Regions from separate parts of the Homo sapiens genome. Here all the other regions are linked to region 7. The links are contacts of gene promoters, found by promoter capture Hi-C in blood cells and fetal thymus (Javierre and others, 2016). All regions are on one chromosome and are shown on one strand. The core of a region is centred on a gene start or on the middle of the fragment in contact, and the rest is flanking DNA. Distances in the headings are between cores, read along the strand shown. Region 1 overlaps PPP2R3A (protein phosphatase 2 regulatory subunit B''alpha). Region 2 overlaps PPP2R3A (protein phosphatase 2 regulatory subunit B''alpha). Region 3 overlaps PPP2R3A (protein phosphatase 2 regulatory subunit B''alpha). Region 4 overlaps PPP2R3A (protein phosphatase 2 regulatory subunit B''alpha). Region 5 overlaps PPP2R3A (protein phosphatase 2 regulatory subunit B''alpha). Region 6 overlaps PPP2R3A (protein phosphatase 2 regulatory subunit B''alpha). Region 7 holds the start of IL20RB-AS1 (IL20RB antisense RNA 1).

What was found. The method cuts DNA at HindIII sites, captures the fragments that hold promoters and counts their contacts. A CHiCAGO score of 5 or more calls a contact.
Region 1: a fragment that was not itself captured here is called in contact with the fragment with the promoter of IL20RB-AS1 in region 7 in 2 of 17 cell types (naive CD4 T cells and naive CD8 T cells); the score reaches 5.7 in naive CD4 T cells.
Region 2: a fragment that was not itself captured here is called in contact with the fragment with the promoter of IL20RB-AS1 in region 7 in 9 of 17 cell types (fetal thymus, neutrophils, naive B cells and 6 more); the score reaches 10.8 in fetal thymus.
Region 3: a contact is called between a fragment that was not itself captured here and the fragment with the promoter of IL20RB-AS1 in region 7, in 11 of 17 cell types (neutrophils, naive CD8 T cells, total CD8 T cells and 8 more). The highest score is 13.2, in neutrophils.
Region 4: a contact is called between a fragment that was not itself captured here and the fragment with the promoter of IL20RB-AS1 in region 7, in 8 of 17 cell types (naive CD8 T cells, fetal thymus, naive CD4 T cells and 5 more). The highest score is 8.4, in naive CD8 T cells.
Region 5: a contact is called between a fragment that was not itself captured here and the fragment with the promoter of IL20RB-AS1 in region 7, in 15 of 17 cell types (fetal thymus, naive CD4 T cells, total B cells and 12 more). The highest score is 16.6, in fetal thymus.
Region 6: a fragment that was not itself captured here is called in contact with the fragment with the promoter of IL20RB-AS1 in region 7 in 12 of 17 cell types (neutrophils, monocytes, total CD4 T cells and 9 more); the score reaches 18.5 in neutrophils.

Annotation. Positions count from the first base shown.
Region 1 is chr3:136,035,470-136,038,169 of GRCh38, forward strand. The region is part of intron 3 of PPP2R3A (protein phosphatase 2 regulatory subunit B''alpha); the gene reads left to right. Among named protein-coding and RNA genes, the nearest start is that of PPP2R3A, 71 kb to the left of the region's middle. The HindIII fragment of the contact is 2,514 bases long and covers 16-2,529 here.
Region 2 is chr3:136,121,709-136,124,408 of GRCh38, forward strand. The region is part of intron 13 of PPP2R3A (protein phosphatase 2 regulatory subunit B''alpha); the gene reads left to right. Among named protein-coding and RNA genes, the nearest start is that of MSL2, 73 kb to the right of the region's middle. The HindIII fragment of the contact is 2,936 bases long and covers 1-2,700 here.
Region 3 is chr3:136,054,149-136,056,848 of GRCh38, forward strand. The region is part of intron 5 of PPP2R3A (protein phosphatase 2 regulatory subunit B''alpha); the gene reads left to right. It also overlaps the pseudogene DONSONP1. Among named protein-coding and RNA genes, the nearest start is that of PPP2R3A, 90 kb to the left of the region's middle. The HindIII fragment of the contact is 5,644 bases long and covers 1-2,700 here.
Region 4 is chr3:136,141,276-136,143,975 of GRCh38, forward strand. The region is part of intron 13 of PPP2R3A (protein phosphatase 2 regulatory subunit B''alpha); the gene reads left to right. Among named protein-coding and RNA genes, the nearest start is that of MSL2, 54 kb to the right of the region's middle. The HindIII fragment of the contact is 1,019 bases long and covers 862-1,880 here.
Region 5 is chr3:136,081,414-136,084,113 of GRCh38, forward strand. PPP2R3A (protein phosphatase 2 regulatory subunit B''alpha) reads left to right here. Exons shown (of 14, transcript NM_002718.5): 8 at 852-1,008. Among named protein-coding and RNA genes, the nearest start is that of MSL2, 110 kb to the right of the region's middle. The HindIII fragment of the contact is 7,708 bases long and covers 1-2,700 here.
Region 6 is chr3:136,100,795-136,103,494 of GRCh38, forward strand. PPP2R3A (protein phosphatase 2 regulatory subunit B''alpha) reads left to right here. Exons shown (of 14, transcript NM_002718.5): 11 at 1,213-1,388; 12 at 2,464-2,582. Among named protein-coding and RNA genes, the nearest start is that of MSL2, 94 kb to the right of the region's middle. The HindIII fragment of the contact is 3,912 bases long and covers 1-2,700 here.
Region 7 is chr3:136,980,847-136,983,546 of GRCh38, forward strand. It overlaps IL20RB-AS1 (IL20RB antisense RNA 1), which reads right to left and starts at 1,345. Exons shown (of 4, transcript NR_183729.1): 1 at 1,217-1,345. IL20RB (interleukin 20 receptor subunit beta) reads left to right here. Exons shown (of 7, transcript NM_144717.4): 3 at 1,314-1,504. The HindIII fragment of the contact is 2,087 bases long and covers 98-2,184 here.

The DNA.
Region 1 (2,700 bases), core at 23-2,522, 950 kb before region 7:
TTTCTTTACATATGAAGCTTAGTTTTGCTGGATACAAAATTTTGGCTGATAATTGTTTTGTTTGAGGAGGCTGAAGATAGGGCCGCAATTCCTTCTAGCTTGTAGGGCTCTGCTGAGAAATCTGCTGTTAATCTGATAGGTTTTCCTTTTTAGGTTACGTAGTACTTTGGTGTCACCACTCTTAAGATTCTTTCCTTTATCTTAACTTTAGATTACCTGATGAGAGTGTGCCTAGGCAGTGATCTTTGTGTGATGAATTTCCCAGATGTTCTTTGTGCTTCTTGTATTTGGATGTCTAGGTCTCTAGCAAGGCTGGGGAAGTTTTCCTCAATTATTCTCCCAAGTATGTTTTCCAAACTTTAAATTTCTCTTCTTCCTCAGGAACACCAATCAATCTTAGGTTTGGTCGTTTAACATAATTCTTGACTCCTTAGAGGCTTTGTTCATATTTTCTTTTTTTTTTCTTTGTCTTTGTTGGATTGGGTTAATTTGAAGACCTTGTCTTTGAGCTCTGAATTTCTTTCTTCTGCTTGTTCAGTTCCATTGCTGAGACTTTCCAGAGCATTTTGCGTTTCTATAAGTGTGTCCATTGTTTCCTGAAGTTTTGATTGTTTTTTATTTATGCTATTTCCTTGAATATTTTTCCCTTCACTTGTATCATTTTTTGGATTTCCTTACATTGGGCTTTGCCTTTCTCTGGTGCCTCCCTGATTAGCTTAATAACTAACCTTCTGAATTCTTTTTCAGGTAAATCAGGGATTTCTTCTTGGTTTGGGTCCATTGCTGATAAGCTAGTGTGATTTTTTGAAGGTATTAAAGAACATTGTTTTGTCATATAACCAGAGTTGGTTTTCTGGTTCCTTCTCATATGGGTAGGCTCTGTCAGAGGAAAGGTCTAGGGCTGAAGGCTGTTAGTCAGATTCTTTTGTCCCACAGGGTGTTCCCTTGATTTAGTACTCTCCCCCTTTTCCTATGGATGTGGCTTCTTGAGAGCCAAGCTGTAGTGATTGTTATCTCTCTTCTGGATCTAGCCGCCCAGCAAGTCCAGGCTCTGGACTGCTACTGGGGGTTGTCTGCACAGCGTCCTGTGATGTGAACCCTCTGTGGGTCTCTCAGCTGTGTATACCAGCACAGTATTTGGGGTGCCTCTTGGGTCCCACAGGAACAGTCCGCTTCCTTCAGGGGGTCTGTGGGTCTTCTCAGGTTTCCTGATTTATTCCTGCAGTTGTTCTGGAGCGAAAATTCTCACTGCAAGCCTCCACACACTGCTCTGTCTGTCCCAAGTTGGAGCTGCAGTCTAGTCCTGCCTCCCGTCCACCATGATCCCCTCAGTCCTCAGAGACTTTTTATTACTCCTAATTCTCTTTTAATTTAGCTTTTACTTGGCTATTGCAGTCTATTAGTACTCACTAAGTCATCCTTATTTTCGACAGTTCTTTACTATGCATGCAAGTCTTTTCTGGTACCAGGCAGTGAGCTCTGTGTCTCCAGCACTTACTGTTCATATTCTTATGATAGGTTGGCATAGGAAAGAGGAGAAGAGAGGCAACCTTTAAGGAGTAAGGAGGAGAGAGTTTGTTAGAGCAATAAATGAATGTTCTTATGGATTCTTGTAGTTTATAAAGTTATTTGGAAGACCAGCTTGAGTTTGCCGCTTACTCTTAGTGGCACTCAAGTGTAGCTGTAAAGACTGGGATCTGTTTTTAAGTGCCTAGAAAACTCTGTGTTTATGGAATCTGCATCTGTTGGTGAAGTTTAGCTCATTCATCTTAGACCTCAAACAGCCCTGAAGAACTTAATGCTTACATCTGGTTAAATTCTCAGTGTGTAGTTTGTACGTTTTTCCACAGCTTTAAGTAATGATAGAGAAGAAAAGAATAGAGAATGAATCTCAGAGAAATGAAAGCAACTTAGGAACAGAAACAGAGAAACAGTAAGAAATGCATTTTTCAGAGACTGGGCCAAAGGATTCATCATGGAGTTTTAACTTCTAGCAGAAAGTTGAGGAAAAGGAATAAGACTCTTTTCTGAACCATACAAAGCCCCGCAGCTCCTGTCTTCTGGCTGACATAGCACCATCTTTACCCATCACACCTGTGGCCTGGAAGGTAGCCTCTCTGTACCTGAATTTCTTCATCTGTAAAATGGGATTAAAAAAATCACTGCCCTCATCTATGTGAGGATCACGTGAAGGCCAAATGAAATTACAAGCCTGAGACATCTTTAAATGTTGAAAGAAGATTACAAACATTGGGTAATCATCCTCTCCTATGTGTATCATTAGACAACCTTGCTTTGGATTATTTGTTTTGTTGGCCATTCTTAGATCAAATCGTAGGTGTTGATCAAGTTTTCTTTGCTCCAGAACTTTGATTACCATATATTGACTCGCCTCCCCCTCTAAAAATAAGTTTCCTAAATCTATTTTCTGTATCTCTGTGTATACCCACTTGCTATCCACTCTTCCTTTGTAAAAAAAAAAACAAAAACAAAATGTCAGTATTCACACTTCACACTTCAACAAGAAAAAGCTTGTTCTCTCTTCTATTAATAAAAGTGCTATTTTCTTGCCTTCAGATTAATACCATTTACTGTTTAGGTTCTTATTGATCTCCTGGCTCCTTTTACCTTAAATCTTTGATTTTTAAGCAGATGCAGGCTAGCATACTTTTTTTAATAGAGTGTAATGTCCATAGCCCT
Region 2 (2,700 bases), core at 155-2,654, 860 kb before region 7:
TTTTGAATGGTTTTTTTAATGAAAAGTCAGGGAATGAGAGCTTCTGAAAATTAAAAATATATTAGTAAAAATGGAAACTCAGCAGAAGATTTGGAAGATGAAATTGAGAATATTTTCACTAAACTGTAATTCCAAATCTCAACATGCTAGGTTTTCACTTGATTATCTAACAGAAGTCTAGCTGATTTTTTTCCCAATGTTCCCTTCCAATGCAATACCTGAGAATTCTCAAAACATAAAATTCTGAAGGTTTAAAAATATATTTTAAGATAACCTTTAAGCAAAAAAGGAAATCTTTTGCTTAAAAAATCAAAAAAATACAAATTACGATCTTTTTAGAACCAGACAATGAAAGTATTCTATTTATTACAACCTGTGGGATATGGACAGGAAGAAATTTGTAGCCTGTATACTGAAATAAATGAATTAGGCAATCCATTCAAGATGCATGAAAAAGGATGACATAGCTGGGCACGGTGACTCACACCTGTAACCCCAACACTCTGGGAAGCTGAGGCGGAAGGATCACTTGAGCCCAGAAGTTTAACGTTATGGTGAACTATGATCACACCACTGCACTCCATCCTGGGTGACAAAGTGAGCCTCAGACTTGAAAAGAAACAGGATGACAAAATAAAGTACAACTCTCCCTCCATATATGTGAAGGATTGATTCCAGGACTGCCTGTGTGTACCCAAATTTGCATATAGTCAAGTCCCACAGTCAGCCTTGCAAAAACCCACATATATGAAAGTTTACCCTCCTGCAGTTAAATATATATGAGTTTTGCATCCCTTGAATACTGTATTTTTACCTGCATTTTGTTGGAAATCCATGTATAAGAAGACCCATGAAGTTCAGACCGATATTATTCAAGGGTCAACTGTATATATTAGGAAGAAATCAAACACTTCTACGTAAACAACAACAAAAAAATCTATTTATACATACACACAGAGAGCATACTATGTAACAAGCACTGTTCTACATATTTTAATTCATTGTGCTCACAGAGCCCTATGTGTTGGATACTGTTATGTTACAGTTAACGAAAACTGAACCACAGAAGATTATGTAAATTGTCAAATCTCTCAATGTATAAAAGAATACATCAGAAGTAAATGGGTGTTATCCCAGGACTGGAACATTAGTTTATCCTTACAAAATCTGTCATTAGCGATTAAAGGAGACAAAATTATAAAAATTTAAATTGATTCTTTGAAGGCATCTCATAAAATTTAATATATTTTGTAGTTTGGGGGAAAAAATCTTAAAACTAAGCAAACTAAGATAAGTAACTCTTTAATGGATAAAGGGTTTTAGTTCCATATCCCAGAAATAACCAGTTAAAAATGACCAGTTGCTGTGTTAATTTATTAATTTAATATAATTTATCCCCCAAAATACGTTGTGGAACTTAGTAAGCTAGTTTTAAAGTTCCCATGGCATAATAAGGACACAGAATAGCAATGAGTTATGAAAAGAAACAAAGGTATGGTGGGGTACAGGAGAGATGGACTATATAAAACCATAGTAATAATTAAAGCAAGTATATTATTCACGTCAAAACAGAAAAATTATGCATAGCAATGGGTAGCATATGATAAAGATAGCATGTTAAATGTGTCAGGAAAAGGCTAGTCAGTAAAATGTTGGTTCTCCATGGTGGGGCAAAATAAATGCATATTAAACTAATGTCTGCATGAAAATAAAGACTTTAAAAGCATAAAAGTAATGGAAGAAATGTATAAGGAAATTATTTATAGATTTGAGTAAATTTTAAAAGTAACCCAAAAAAGTGACAAAATTCTGCATCACAATCAAAGGGCAAACTGGGTTGCATCATATGACCAATATTTTGTTTTATAAATAGGGTTCTTCAAAATCAATAGTAAGAACATAAATATTGTCCAGTTCAAAAGACAGACATTTTACCCAGGAAACAAACATAAATATTCCTGCTTCACTAGTGTTAAAATGCAGTAGCCAGATGTGATCATTTTAAATGTATGTGTATCAAACAACACAGCCACAAAATACATTAAATAAAAATTTCCAGACTTGAAAGGAGAAATAGATAAGTCAACAATTACAGTTGGAGATTTCAACACTTCTCATTCAGTAATTGATAGAACGATTGCAGACACTCAAGGATACAGAAGACTTAATAGTCAACACATTTGATTTAATCATTATTAGGGCACACTCCACAAAACAACAAAAATATATATACACTGTTTCATCCAGGTGTACACAGAACTTTTCCAGACCACATCTTTGGCAGATAAAATAAGACTTGATAAATTCAAATGATTACAATAATATAAATATGTTGTTTGATTAAAAATTGAATTAAATTAGAAAACAGATCTGGGAACACCAAAATATTTGGAAATTAAATGACACACTCTTAAGATGCATAGGTCAAAGAAAAAACCACAGGGAAATTCAAAATTATCTTTAAATGAATGAAAAGAACATGTGAAAATATATGGGATGGACTGGGCACAGTGGCTCATGCCAGTAATCTGAGCACTCTGGGAGGACAAGTTGGGAAGATTGCGTGGGGCCAGGAGTTCAAGATCAGACTGGGCAGCACAGCGAGACCCCACTTCTACAGAATTAGCCGGGCATGGGGATGGCATACACCTATAGTTCTAGCTGCCTGAGAGGCTGAAGCAAGAGGATTGCTTGAACCCA
Region 3 (2,700 bases), core at 68-2,567, 930 kb before region 7:
ATTTTAAAAATGTGAATTATATAATTCCCCCTACACACATACACATACACCTATAAGCACATTAAATACTACTTTGCCATGACAGCTCGGTATACTTCACAATTCTTTTTTTTTTTTTTTTTTTTTTTTGAGTTGGAGGCTCGCCCTGTCGCCAGGCTGGAGTGCAGTGGCACGATCTTGGCTCACTGCAACCTCCGCCTCCCGGGTTCAAGCAATTCTCCTTCCTCAGCCTCCCAGGTAGCTGGGATTACAGGCACGCGCCACCACACCCAGCTAATTTTTGTATTATTAGTAGAGATGGGGTTTCATCATGTTGGCCAGGATGGTCTGGATCTCTTGACCTCGTGATCCGCCCACCTCGGCCTCCCAAAGTGCTGAGATTACAGGCATGAGCCACCGCGTCCAGCCTACTTCACAATTCTTAACGCTATTCTATGTGGAATACAAAATGCCTTTTTATCTGAATTAACATGCATTTAAAAATATTTAGTATATGTGAAAATAAAGGAATTATAAATCAGTAGGAAAGATGTTCAGGTAAAGGCATCATCAGTCAGCTCAGTAGATGTTGTCTACATTTATTTTCTACCTTTGTAAAACAAGAACCTGCTAACAGTCTTAGGTAAATGGTAAAGTAACATATTTTTGCCCTGATGCCATTGGTCAGAATGCCATGAGATAGCTGCTGTGTGTTTAGTCTCAATTTCCTGTTTGCAAAGAAATGCATTAATTCAGTTTTCTACTCACTATATAATTCGGTTGTAGGGATATAGATATCTCATTTGAGTTCTCTGAGTTTTTTATCTTTATATCTAAAAATTTAATCTGAAAATAGTAAAAGCAGAAAACACTGATTTAAAACCTTAAAATGCTACTGCTCAGTGCATGTAATAAAAGTTAATGTTTATAAACATTTCAATATTTTAAAGTATATTTCCTTAACTTCAAGAATTTTGACTTTGCTTGCTACAAGGCTTTTTTCCTCAAAGATTCCTTTTAGGCTTACTTTGGTGTTCAGGATCTCCAGTTATAAATATAGAAGAGATGACTGTGCAAGATAAAATTAAAAAGCCAGACATACTTTCTATCAAGCTGCGTAAAAAGAAACATGAAGTACAAATGGATCACAGACCTGAGTCTGTTGTGTTGGTGAAAGGAATCAACATCTTTACATTGCTCAATTTTTTGATCAACTCTAAGAGTTTAGTTGCTACCTCAGGTCCACAGGTAGGACTTCCTCTGACCCTCTTATCCCCTGTTGCTCTCCGAGGTGCCATAATGCAAATGCTTAAGGCACAAAGTGTAAATGTGAAGACACAGCTCTTTCTGGATACAGAGACCAGTTTAGTTTGGAGATTACAGGTTCTATCGTGCCTCATTCTCTGCATTCACTGACCATGCTGCTCAAATCTTCACAGAGCGGGTCTTTCTCTGCAGTACTGTATCCACACGAGCCAACTGCTGTATTTAACACCTGCCTGCCAATGGACAAAGTACTTGATACAGAGGTTGTTCATAAGGAGCTTACTAACTGTGGTTTGCACCCTAAGACTCTGGAGCAACTTAGAGAAATACCACTACTTGGGAAATCATCTTTATGGAATGTGGTGATGAGAATTTTTTAAAAACAAATTGCACATACTGATATAAATAAATGATTGGGGAGAAGAAACAAATCTATGCAGAATTGCAAACAGTTTAGTAGACACTGCAGTCTTAAAGAGGGGAGCGTAAATCACCATTCCTTAAGAGTAGGCTATGCATAGTGATTTCAGGGTGTGGGGAGTAACTTTACAGTGGAGGAGCCTGACAGATACTACCTCAGTCTGATGATCAAGGCCAACATCAGCAGTCATCAATCACGTTGTTAGTATGTACCTTTGGCAAGATATGGTGCAAAGGACATGTTACTTCTCTGGCCTTTCTCCCAAAAATCCATAAACCCAGTCTAATCATGAGGAAAACATCAGGCAGATTCCAGTAATGAAATATCCTACATAATACCTGAGTAGTACTCATCAGAACTGTCAAGGTCATCAAAAGTAAGGAAAGTCTAAGAAACTGTCACAGCCAAAAGAAGTCTAAGGAGACATAACTAAATAGAATATGATGACCTGGATAGAACACTGGAATAGAAAGAAGACATCAGGTAAAAATTAAGGAAATGTGAATAAAGTATGGACTTTAAAAATAATGTGTCAATATCAGTTTAATTTTAACAAGTGGACCATATAGTAAGTGTAAGGTGTTAATAATTGAGGAATCTGGGCGCAGGGTATATGGGAACTCTCAGTGCTGTTTTCTTAATTTTTTTATAAACCTAAAACTATTCTAAAAAAAAAAAACCAGTTATTTTAAAAAGTACTATATTAAGGAAGGTTATATACAATAAGAACCGTAAAACAAAACCTTTATCTTACACCGTATATAAAAATCAACTGAAAATGGGTTAAAGACTTAAATGTAATACCTGAAACTGTAAAGAAAACATAGGGGTAAGGCTGCGTGACACTCGTCTTAGCATTGATTTTTTTTTTGGATATGAACCCAAAAGCACAAAGGAAAAAATAGACAAATGGAATTGCATCAAAGTAAAAAACTTCTGCACAGTCAAGGAAATAATCAACAGAGTGAAAAGAAAATCTACAGAATGGTAGAAAATATTTGCAAACCATATATCTGGCAAGGTGTTAATATCCA
Region 4 (2,700 bases), core at 121-2,620, 840 kb before region 7:
TAGGCAGGGAGTAAAATATGTGACTGTGTGCAGTGATTTTGAGGCAGGAAACAGCATGTTGGGGAGATTTTTAAAGCCTAGTATGGCCAGAATATAGTGAGCAACAGAGGGAGATGTGGTTACAAAGTCTAGCAGGGGCCAGATCATGCAGGGCCTAGGGAAGCCACTGAAAATTGTTAAGCAAGGGAGTGATATAATCCCTACCCCTTAGGTTTTCTGAAGATTATTCTGCCAGATTAGTGGAAGTGCAAGAACAGAAGTAGGGAGACAAATAAGGAAGCCATTACATACATCTGAATCAGAGATGTGGTTAATTAATTCAGGAGTGAATAATCAGAAAACCTGTACATGACATCTCAGATTAAAAGATGAACACAAGCTAGCCAAAGAGGGAAGGGCATTTCAGGCAATTGAAAAACATGTACAGTGGCATTAGGTCCCAAGACCATAACCTATTCCAACACTATAAACAGCCTGGTATGGCAGTAGCAAAGGATATGTGGCAAGAGTGTAATCCAAACAAGAAAGTATGGTACCCTGAACTTAAGCCAGTGGTGGTAGGGAGGAAGAGGCAGGGTTGTATCCATATGGTCAACTGTAGTGAGGTGAGGAAAGAGGAACTTGGGATAACCGAGTTTCTGGCTTTGAGTGGGCAGATGACAGTGCCATTGACTAAAATAGGGAGAACCAGGGCAGTGGGAAAGATGAGTTCAAGTTTATACATGCTGCTGTTCTGAAAGAGCCATCTATATAGTAGGCAGCTGGATATATGGAGTTCTCCAGCTTAGAAAGAGGCTGAGGCTGGACATAGTTTGGAAACCACAGGTGAGTAGGCAGTGAGTAAAGCCATGGGAAAGACTAAGCTTACCAGGGAAGTACAAAACGAGAAGAGCTTATTAGTCCAGAACCTGGGACGCACTGGCATTGAAGGAGCAAGAGTTCTAAGATGGGTAATTTTATTGTGAGACATACGGCACATTGTAGGATGTTTAGCACCATCCCTGCACTCTACCCACTAGATGCCAGTAGGACCCACTCAGTGGTGACAGTCAAGACACAGACATGTCTCCAGACATGCCCAAATGTCCCCTGGCGGCGGGGGACAAAATCACCCTAGTTGAGAACCACCAAAATTAAGAGGAGTCTCCAGGATGCTGACAAAGGAGGGTTATTGAATGAACTTCCTTTTGCAAATGTTTTATTCAAAAATGACATACACAAAAATGTATAATCCCTCCCCCAATATAGGATTAGGTGTCACTCACCAACATGCCCAAAATCACATTAAGTGATCAAACCCAGATTGGAACCTGACTTTTATAGTCTGACTCCAAAGCCTGTGCTCTAAGCCTAAATCACTTAACCCCTAACTCCATAAGGTCTCCATTAGGCTTCAAGTGCTGTGAGGAGAGGGCTGATTCAGTCTTTTTCATCATTATAATCCTAGCATTTGGCTCTGACACTTAGCAACAGGAGTTCAAATATTTACTGAATGAGTCACACTTCACACTTAACTCTGAAAATATGCGTTATTCATAGACCTACACTGAGGTATTTAACACTGATAGCTTACAGACAACACGTTAGGGCACCAAGGGGAAGATGCTCCCATCCTGACAAGAAATCAGCAGCATTGGTTTTGAGAATTTTGTTCCCCAGAACAGAGGCTCTGCCATCAACCATTTCACTTGCATTAGCGGAAAGTTCCTCTCCTATTGCCTCCTTATCCAGCACATCCCATGCCGCATTGAGGCCTCAAGGAGATGGGGGAAGAGGAGTGGAAACAAGAATGGAATGGAATATTTTTATTAAATGAACAAATTATAACTTTTGACAGTATCATAAACTGGTAGTCATAGGGAACAATTTTCTATCAAGTAAGCTTTTTAAAAGGTTTAAACCTCTAACCTCTATTCAAAAATGTTGGCCTAGGCTGGGTGCAGTGGCTCACACCTTTAATCCCAGCACTTTGGGAGGCTGATGGGGGTGGATCACCTGAGGTCAGGAGTTGAAGACCAGCCTGGCCAACATGGCGAAACCCTGTTGCTACTAAGAAAACACAAAAACCAGCCAGGAGTGGTGATATACGTCCGTAATCCCTGCTTCTTGGGAGGCTGAGGCAGGAGAATTGCTTGAACCCAGAAAGCAGAGGTTGCAGTGAACCAAGATCATGCCACTGCACTCCAGCCTGGGCAACAGAGCAAGACTCCATCTCAAAAACAAAAAGATGTTGACTGGGCGCAGTGGCTCATGCCTGTAATCCCAGCATTTTGGGAGGCCGAGACAGGTGGATCACTTGAGGTTAGGAGTTCAAGACCAGTCTGGCAAACATGGTGAAACCCTGTCTCTACTGAAAATACAAAAATTACCCGGGCATGGTGGCACATGCCTGTAAATCCCAGCTACTCGGGAGGCTGAGGCAGGAGAATCACTTGAACTTGGGAGGCAGAGGTTGCAATGAGCCAAGATGGCCCCACTGTACTCCAGCCTGGGCGACACAGCGAGACTCCATCTCAAAAGAAAAAACACACACAATGTTTTAGGAACTTGAATAGGTGCCACTTACTGTATATACCTACCTCAGCATATTTTCCCTCACTAATTGGCCCCAATTGGTACCTTTTTGATGAAGGGACTGTATGTCCACAAATTCCTGCTTAAATATTGTGGGAGATCCCTGCAAGGGCTAAGCCAGTGATG
Region 5 (2,700 bases), core at 199-2,698, 900 kb before region 7:
TTATAGATGCATATAGGTAGATCTGTTTTGGGGGCATGGTTTTGATACTTAATCAAAAAAATATTTTAATAGGGAGATGTATCACTTATCTTTATTGTGACTATTCATATATCTGATTTTATTTCTGCCATTTCATTTTTTTATATTTCTTACATTCTTTTGTGCTTTTATTTTTCTTTCTGAATCTTTCACTTCTGAATATGTCTTTATTTATCTGCCCACTTACATAATAATTTGGCTGACAACAGAATTGTGGGTTCAGTATCATTGATTCTGGATTTTGCCGTAGGGGAGTACAGTGAGTCAGGGAAGACCCAGGTTTACTTCCAGCTCAGGGCCCTGCATCTCTACCTGCCATGCCTATGCCAGGCCACCATGTATCATCACTATTGTATATATGAGTAACCTTTGTGATATAAACTTAATTTTATTACAAAATGAAACCCTATATGTTGATGCCTACCCCTCTTAATGTTGCTCACATAACTTTGAAAATTAAAAACAGTATTTGTTTCTGGCCAAATAATTAAGACTATGATCTAATTGTTCTTTTCATGCCAGTCTCTGACCTCTGACCAACTATAGTCCCCAAGGTAATGGTACTTCCCTTCCCCTGCTTTTACATCCTCCACAGCATCCAGCCCTTCACTGAGCATATTACAGAGCTCAGTAAATGCTTATAGATTGATTGGTTGATTAAAGGTAGGATGAGGTTGCCTATTAAAGGGTTTCTGATTTGGTACCAGAAAAAAATTTTAAATTCAGTTTAAAACAGAAATTCGCTAGACTCTGCACAGTGGCCAAAGCTGCTTTTTCATAATGTTTAAATTCTTCTTTTCATATAATTTCAGACCCTAGCACTTTTGGAAGAAGAGGAAGATATAAACCAAATTACAGATTACTTCTCCTATGAACATTTCTATGTTATTTATTGTAAATTCTGGGAACTAGATACTGATCACGACCTCTACATCAGCCAGGCCGATCTGTCTCGATACAATGACCAGGGTAAGTGATTCTGTAGATGCTAAGACTTAACCATTTTAAAGAGTTATATAAATTATCACTACTCATTATGAGAAATTCCCGTTTGCTAAATTCTAAACCTAATCAAGTCCTCTTTACAGGCCAATAATTTTTAAGAGGGGATGAGTGAAGATAATATAATTTTTTATTAAATTAATAAAAGGCCAGATGTAGGAGAAGGAGTTTGGAAGTAAGTAACCAATCACAGTCTTAGTTTTGATAAAGCGATGAGTCTTTATACTGGTGTGTATTTTCTGATGATGAATTGAATAAGATCCACACCTGTTTAAATCTGTTTGAAAGAGAATATGTATACACCTTTATAACCCTTCCCACTTAACAATATTTCTGTAAAAAGCCAAGCATGAAAATAATGTTTTTAACTTGCCAAGTTTTATTTTCAAGGACTCACAAAAATTTACTTTTGGAAATTTTGTTCCAGAAAGATACGTCTCTGCAGATGAATTTTGCGTGCTTTCTTTTGTCAGAAAACAAAAAATTACATATCACATGATAATACCCTTTTTACTTCATTTTTGCCAGCGGTAAATCTAGAACCTGTTGCCTACTGATTTAATATCCTTGGTTTTTTTGAGACAGCGTCTCACTTTGTCACCTAGGCTGGAATGCAGAAGCATGAACACGGCTCACTGTAACCTCAACCTCCTGGGCTCAAGCCATCCTACCACCTCAGCCCCTAAGTAGCTGGGACTACAGGCACATGCCACCATACCTGGCTAATTTTTTTGTATTTTTTTGTAAAGATGGTGGTATGGTTTGGCTATGTTCCCACCCAAATCTCATCTTGAATTGTAGCTCCCATAATCCCCACCTGTTGTGGCAGGGACCTGGTGGCAGGTAATTGAATCATGGGAGTGGGTCTTTCCCATGTAGTTCTCATGATAGTGAATAAGTCTCATGAGAGCTGATGGTTTTATAAAGGGGAGTTCCTCTGCACATGCTCTCTTGCCTGCCACCCTGTAACATGTGCTGTTGCTTCTCCTTTGCCTTCCGCCATGATTGTGAGGCCTTCTCAGCCATGTGGAACTATGAGTCCATTAAACTCTTCCCATTATAAATTACCCAGTCTCAGGTATGTCTTTACTAGCAGCATGAGAACAGACTAATATAGTAAATTGGTACCAGTAGCATGGGGCGCTGCTGTAAAGATACCCGAAAATGTGGAAGGGACTTTGGAACTAGGTAATAGGCAGAGGTTGGAACAGTTTGGAGGGCTCAGATAAAGACAGGAACATGTGGGAAAGTTTGGAACTTCCTAGAGACTTGAATGGCTTTAACCAAAATGCTGATAGTGATATGGACAATAAAATCCAGGCTGAAGTGATCTCAGGTGGAGATGAGGAACTTGTTGGGAACTGGAGTAAAGGTCACTCTTGCTATGCAAAGAGACTTGGCATTTTGCCCCTGCCCTAGAGATCTGTGGAACTTTGAACTTGAAAGAGATGATTTGGGGTATGTGGTGGAAGAAATTCCTAAGCAGCAAAGCATTCAAGAAGTGACAGTGCATAAAAGTTTGGAAAATTTGCTGCCTGATAATGCAGTAGAAAATAAAAACCCATTTTCCGGGGAGAAATTCAAGCCCACTGCAGAAATTTGCATAAATAATGGGGAGTCAAATGCTAATCACCAAAACAATGGGGAAAATGTCTCCAG
Region 6 (2,700 bases), core at 74-2,573, 880 kb before region 7:
TCCAGCCTGGGCAGCAGAGTGAGACCCCATCTCTAAAGTTAAAACAAAAAATCTGAAGGCAAAACACCACAAACCTCTAATTCTATAACTAGCCAAAATACCAACCATATTAGAGGGTAGAAAAAAGGCATTTTCAAAGACCCAAGATCTCAAAAAATGTACCTGCCATGCTCTTTCATTCAAGAAGCTACTAGAGAATGCGCAGAGTAACAAAATAATGAGGAAACAAAGAATGAGGAAAATGCAAGAAACAAGAATTAGGAGAAAGGCGAAAGGAATCCCTGGATGAAACTGAGCGAGGCCTAGAGACTAAGCAGCCCAGATTAGAGTAGGTCAGAAGCAACCAAGGAAGACTTCATCAAGAACATGCAATTGACAGAGCACCTCATGGAACTGAGTGTGGATTTAGACAACTGGCAGAATTTGGGGGTTGAATTAGTAGCAAGTACACAGAAAACTAAGCAAATAGATAAAAGAAAAATATAAAATTATAAATTCTGAATGTTGAGCAAGTTAACTGTGTTAAGAGGATGAGAAGGGCGTGTAGGTAAAGTGGTGACAAATTACAGAAGAACTAAAGTTCAACTTTCATAATGTGAAATCTACTTTTTGTTTGGTTGGTTGGTTGTTTAGTTGGTTTTTATCTTGAGGCGGGAGTCTCGTTCTTTCACCCAGGCTGGAGTGCAGCAGCGCAGTCTTGGCTCACTGCACCCTCCACCTCCCAGGTTCAAACAATCCTCCCACCTCAGCCGCCCAAGTAGCTGAGATTACAGGCATGCACCACCATGCGCAGCTAGTTTTTTGTATTTTTAGTAGAGATAGGGTTTCACCATGTTGGCCAGGCTGATCTCAAACTCCTGACCTGAAGTGATCTGCCCACCTCAGTCTCCCAAAGTGCTGGGATTACAGGCATGAGCCACCGTGCCCAGCCTCTAATAATAGTTCTGAAAATAAATACAAGAAAGGAGCGATATAGACGTGTTATCTGAAAATAGGAAGGTAAAAAGCAAAATGGGGTTGAACACGGTTGATTCTGGGTGGAAAAATAAAGGGAAGAAGGGGTCCGCCATTTTCTCTAACAAACTTTGTAAAACTATATCTAAGCCTGAAGTGTATGTAATATGTAACTTTTACTTTAAAAGAAACATACTAAATCTGGATAAATAAAAGGTCTTTACCAGGCCCATGATAATGATTGTCCTTATCATCTAGCATTGAGTATTGGTTCCGCTGCATGGATGTGGATGGAGACGGTGTACTCTCCATGTATGAGCTGGAGTACTTCTATGAGGAGCAGTGTGAACGGATGGAAGCCATGGGAATTGAGCCCTTGCCATTCCATGATTTACTGTGCCAGATGCTTGACCTAGTGAAGCCAGCTGTTGATGGTGAGACCAAGCAATGGGACAGATGCACTGTTCACCTATGTATCAGAGGAGGGCAAAGAATCCTAGATTGTCCTAAATTATTTAACATTTCAGAGTCTTGATAGAAGACTTCCTAGGACAGAAGTGTTTAAAGTTTCTCCTTGACTATTAGTGTAGCAACTTTTTTTTTTTTTTTTTTTTTTGAGATGCAGTCTCGCTTTGTCTGCCAGGCTGGAGTACAATGGTGTGATCTCAGCTCACTGCAACCTCCGCCTCCTGGGTTCAAGTGATTCTCCTGCCTCAGCCTCCCAAGTAGCTGGGACTACAGGCAACCACCACCATGCCCAGCTAATTTTTGTATTTTTAGTAGAGATGGGGTTTCACCATGTTGGCCAGGCTGGTCTCGAACTCCTGACCTCAGGTGATCCACCCACCTCGGTCTCCCAAAGTGCTGGGGTTACAGGCGTGAGTCACCATGCCCAGGCTTAGTGTAGCAATTGATGGCAAGTCTGCTATTTAAGAAATAGGATTTTACACCAGGCACAGTGGTGTATGCCTGTAGTCCCTGCTACTAAGGATGCTGAGGTGGGAGGATTGCATTATGATTGTTCCTGTGAGTAGCCACTGCACTCCAGCCTAGGCAACACAGCGAGACTGTATCTCTTTTTTAAAAAGAAAATGAAAGCGGGGTTTGGGGGATGAAAGAAGATTTTTCCTTAGACACAGAAAGCACATGAGGAGAGATGGGAGGGACTGCTTGATGGGCACAGAGTTTCCTTTTGGGGTGATGATATTATTACAGAACTAGATAGTGGTAATGGTTGTACAACATTGTGAGTGTACTAAAAGCCACTGAATTATGCACTTTAAAATTGTTTAAATGGTGAACTTTATTAGTGAATTTTACCTCAATAAAAGAAATGGGTTTGAGAAATTGATACCCTTGAAAAAAGAAATGAGATTTAAATTTTTTTATTCTGAAAATAGGACTTTTATAATAAACATATACCTATACTTTTAGATGTCAGGGAAAGTTTTTTCCTCTTGCCAAAACAGCTCTTGATGAAATTTACCAGATTTGTTTATTTTTATGTAGGCAAAATAACTCTAAGAGATCTGAAGAGGTGCAGAATGGCTCACATCTTCTATGACACTTTCTTTAATCTGGAGAAATACTTAGACCATGAACAGAGAGATCCCTTTGCGGTCCAGAAGGTAACAGTATAATTTTAACTTTTATTTGAGGGCTGCAGTGTCAGGGGCTGTGTGTGCTACATATTAACATGGTCTCTGCATGCTGGAATTTCGGTAAAGAGGTAACATTTGTAACATT
Region 7 (2,700 bases), core at 95-2,594:
CAACTGTCCAATGGGTTTGACTCTGACTTGAGATGGATAAATCACTGGAGACTCAGATCCTTTAAGGGTGGAGGAGTCCTCACTTTTCCTGACTATAAGCTTATACCTAGAGCCAAAACGAACTATAATCCTAAAGGTCAGCTGGCCCTGGGGCTGAGCAGGCTCTAGTCTTCTCCAGGTGTTCAGGTGCTTGCAGCTATTGAATAGTGATAAGGACACAGAAATTGCTCCATATATTTCATTAACAATGAATACAGACTGAACACCTACATGTGTAGACATTCTTCTAGGCTCAGGGATACAGTTGACAAGGTTTCTGGATTTTGAGAGCTTACATCTAGAGGAGGATACAGATGATAAATATACTAGGCCAGCATTCTCTAGTATGGTAGCCACCAGCCACAGCTGGCTATTTAAATTTAAATTAAATTAAATTAAATTAAATTAAATTAAAATGTCTGTTTCCTGCCACACTAGTCACATTTTAGGTGTTCAATAGCCACATGTGGCCAGTGGTTACCATATTGAACAACATCGATTTAGAATATTTGCATCATCACAGAAAGTTTATTTTTGGAAAGCACTGCTCTAGGGAATTTTGGATAGTAATCAGTGCTAGGAGGAAGCTAAAAGGCTGATGCCATAGAGAGTTGACACTGAGGCTCCTTTATATTAGATGGCCTGGGATGGCCTCTCTGAGGAGGTGATATTTATGCCATATCTGAAGGACAAGAGGAGCCAGCCATGCGAACAGCAGGGGCAGAGCGTTTGAGATGGAGTGAACAGTTAGTCAAAGGTCCTAAGGCAAAAAGTGCTCAGCATTTTGGAGAAATGACCAATGTGGCAAGAATATCACGCTTCGGAGCAGAGTGAGAGAGAAGGCCAAAGCATCTTGTAAGACCACTGGCAAGAGTTTGGATCCCATTCTAAGTCCTGTAGGAAGCCATTAAGGAGAGAAACGTCACAATCTGCTGAGTGGTGAATGGTTTTGAGAATGGCAGGTGTCCAAGCTGGGAGATCACAGCAAGGCAAGGAATGACAGTGGCTGAGATTAGGGTGATGACCCTGGAGATGAAGAGATAAAAGAGATCCAGACACATTGATGTTTATGCCTAGCTTTCCCTATCTGGCAATAAAAGGAGTAAGGGACGATGGATGGTTGGTAGGGAGGAGAGTGGAGGAGCTAGGATAATGAGAAAGTACTTATTTTACTTACCTGTACAAAGTAGGTGAACGAAGTCAGTTACTTGCAACCATAACTGAGCCTGTGTCAGAGGGGCTGGTGTAACTCTGTGCCCTCCTCTCTTTGACAGGGAGTACGAGAGCCTGTACACGAGCCACATCTGGATCCCCAGCAGCTGGTGCTCACTCACTGAAGGTCCTGAGTGTGATGTCACTGATGACATCACGGCCACTGTGCCATACAACCTTCGTGTCAGGGCCACATTGGGCTCACAGACCTCAGCCTGGAGCATCCTGAAGCATCCCTTTAATAGAAACTCAAGTAAGGCACTTCTCTCCTTACACTCCCACCCCAACCAGCCCCTCCTTTAGGAACCATGTTCACCTAAACTTTCTAGACTCTTTTTAGCATCAGAATAGTCCTGCAAAGCCAGAGTATTGTGAACACAAACAACCCTTACTGGTATATTTGAAAAATTGCCAACTGCTTTCTACATGCTGCTCTCTGTCATGCCCTTTGACTACTCAAGTCATTCCTGACTGTCTGTGTCAGGGTGTGCAGGTGTTGGGGATGCTGACATTGGGAACCTGGAAGGAAAGCTGCTCTGGAAGTGAAGAGGTGGCACCAGGACTGCTGCTCCCTACTCTGATTGTGCCTCCATAAATTGTGCCTCCCACTTGAGGCCTCATTAACTGCATATTTACTGCCCACGTAAGCAGCTTTGTTGTGCAAGAGGATTTATACACTTAACAGAGCCACCAGAAAATTGCCCTTCTGTAATGACTTCTGTGGGAAATAAATAACTTTTCTTTTGGAGTAGTACCTGGAAAAGGATTGAGAAAGAAGTAATAGAGGAATCCAGATAGGTGGCCAAATGTGGCTGAGTACAAGCACTGGTCATTGTATAAAAGGACATGTGTGTTTGCGGAACAGGAGAGGCAAGGGCTGATGGGCAGGGGGTAGGGAAGCAGTTGATCATGTGGTGAAGGGCTTTGACACGAAGCTTGACCAAGTCAGTAGAGGGTAGCCAATGAAAGAGGAGAGGATCTAGACCAGGTCTATCTCTTTTTTTTTTTGATACGGAGTCTCACTCTGTCACCCAGGTTGGTGTGCAGTGGCGTGATCTCAGCTCACTGCAACCTCTGTCTCCTGGGTTCAAGTGATTCTCCTGCCTCAGCCTCCTGAGTAGCTGGGACTACAGGCGTGCACCACCATGCCTGGCTAATTTTTGTATTTTTAGTAGAGACAGGGTTTCACTATGTTTTCCAGGCTGGTCTGGAACTCCTGACCTCAAGTCATCTGCCCACTTCGGCCTCCCAAAGTGCTGGGATTACAGGCATGAGCCATGGCGCCCGGCCGACCAGGTCTATCTTACAAAGCAACACTCTGGCTGCTGTGTGGAAAGTGAACCAGAGTAGGGCAAGCCTGCAGGACAGGGGAAGAGTGAGGAGGGGGTTGTAATACTCCTACTGATCCCAAGAGTTTGGAAGGGGATGGGAAGGAGATGATGAATCCAA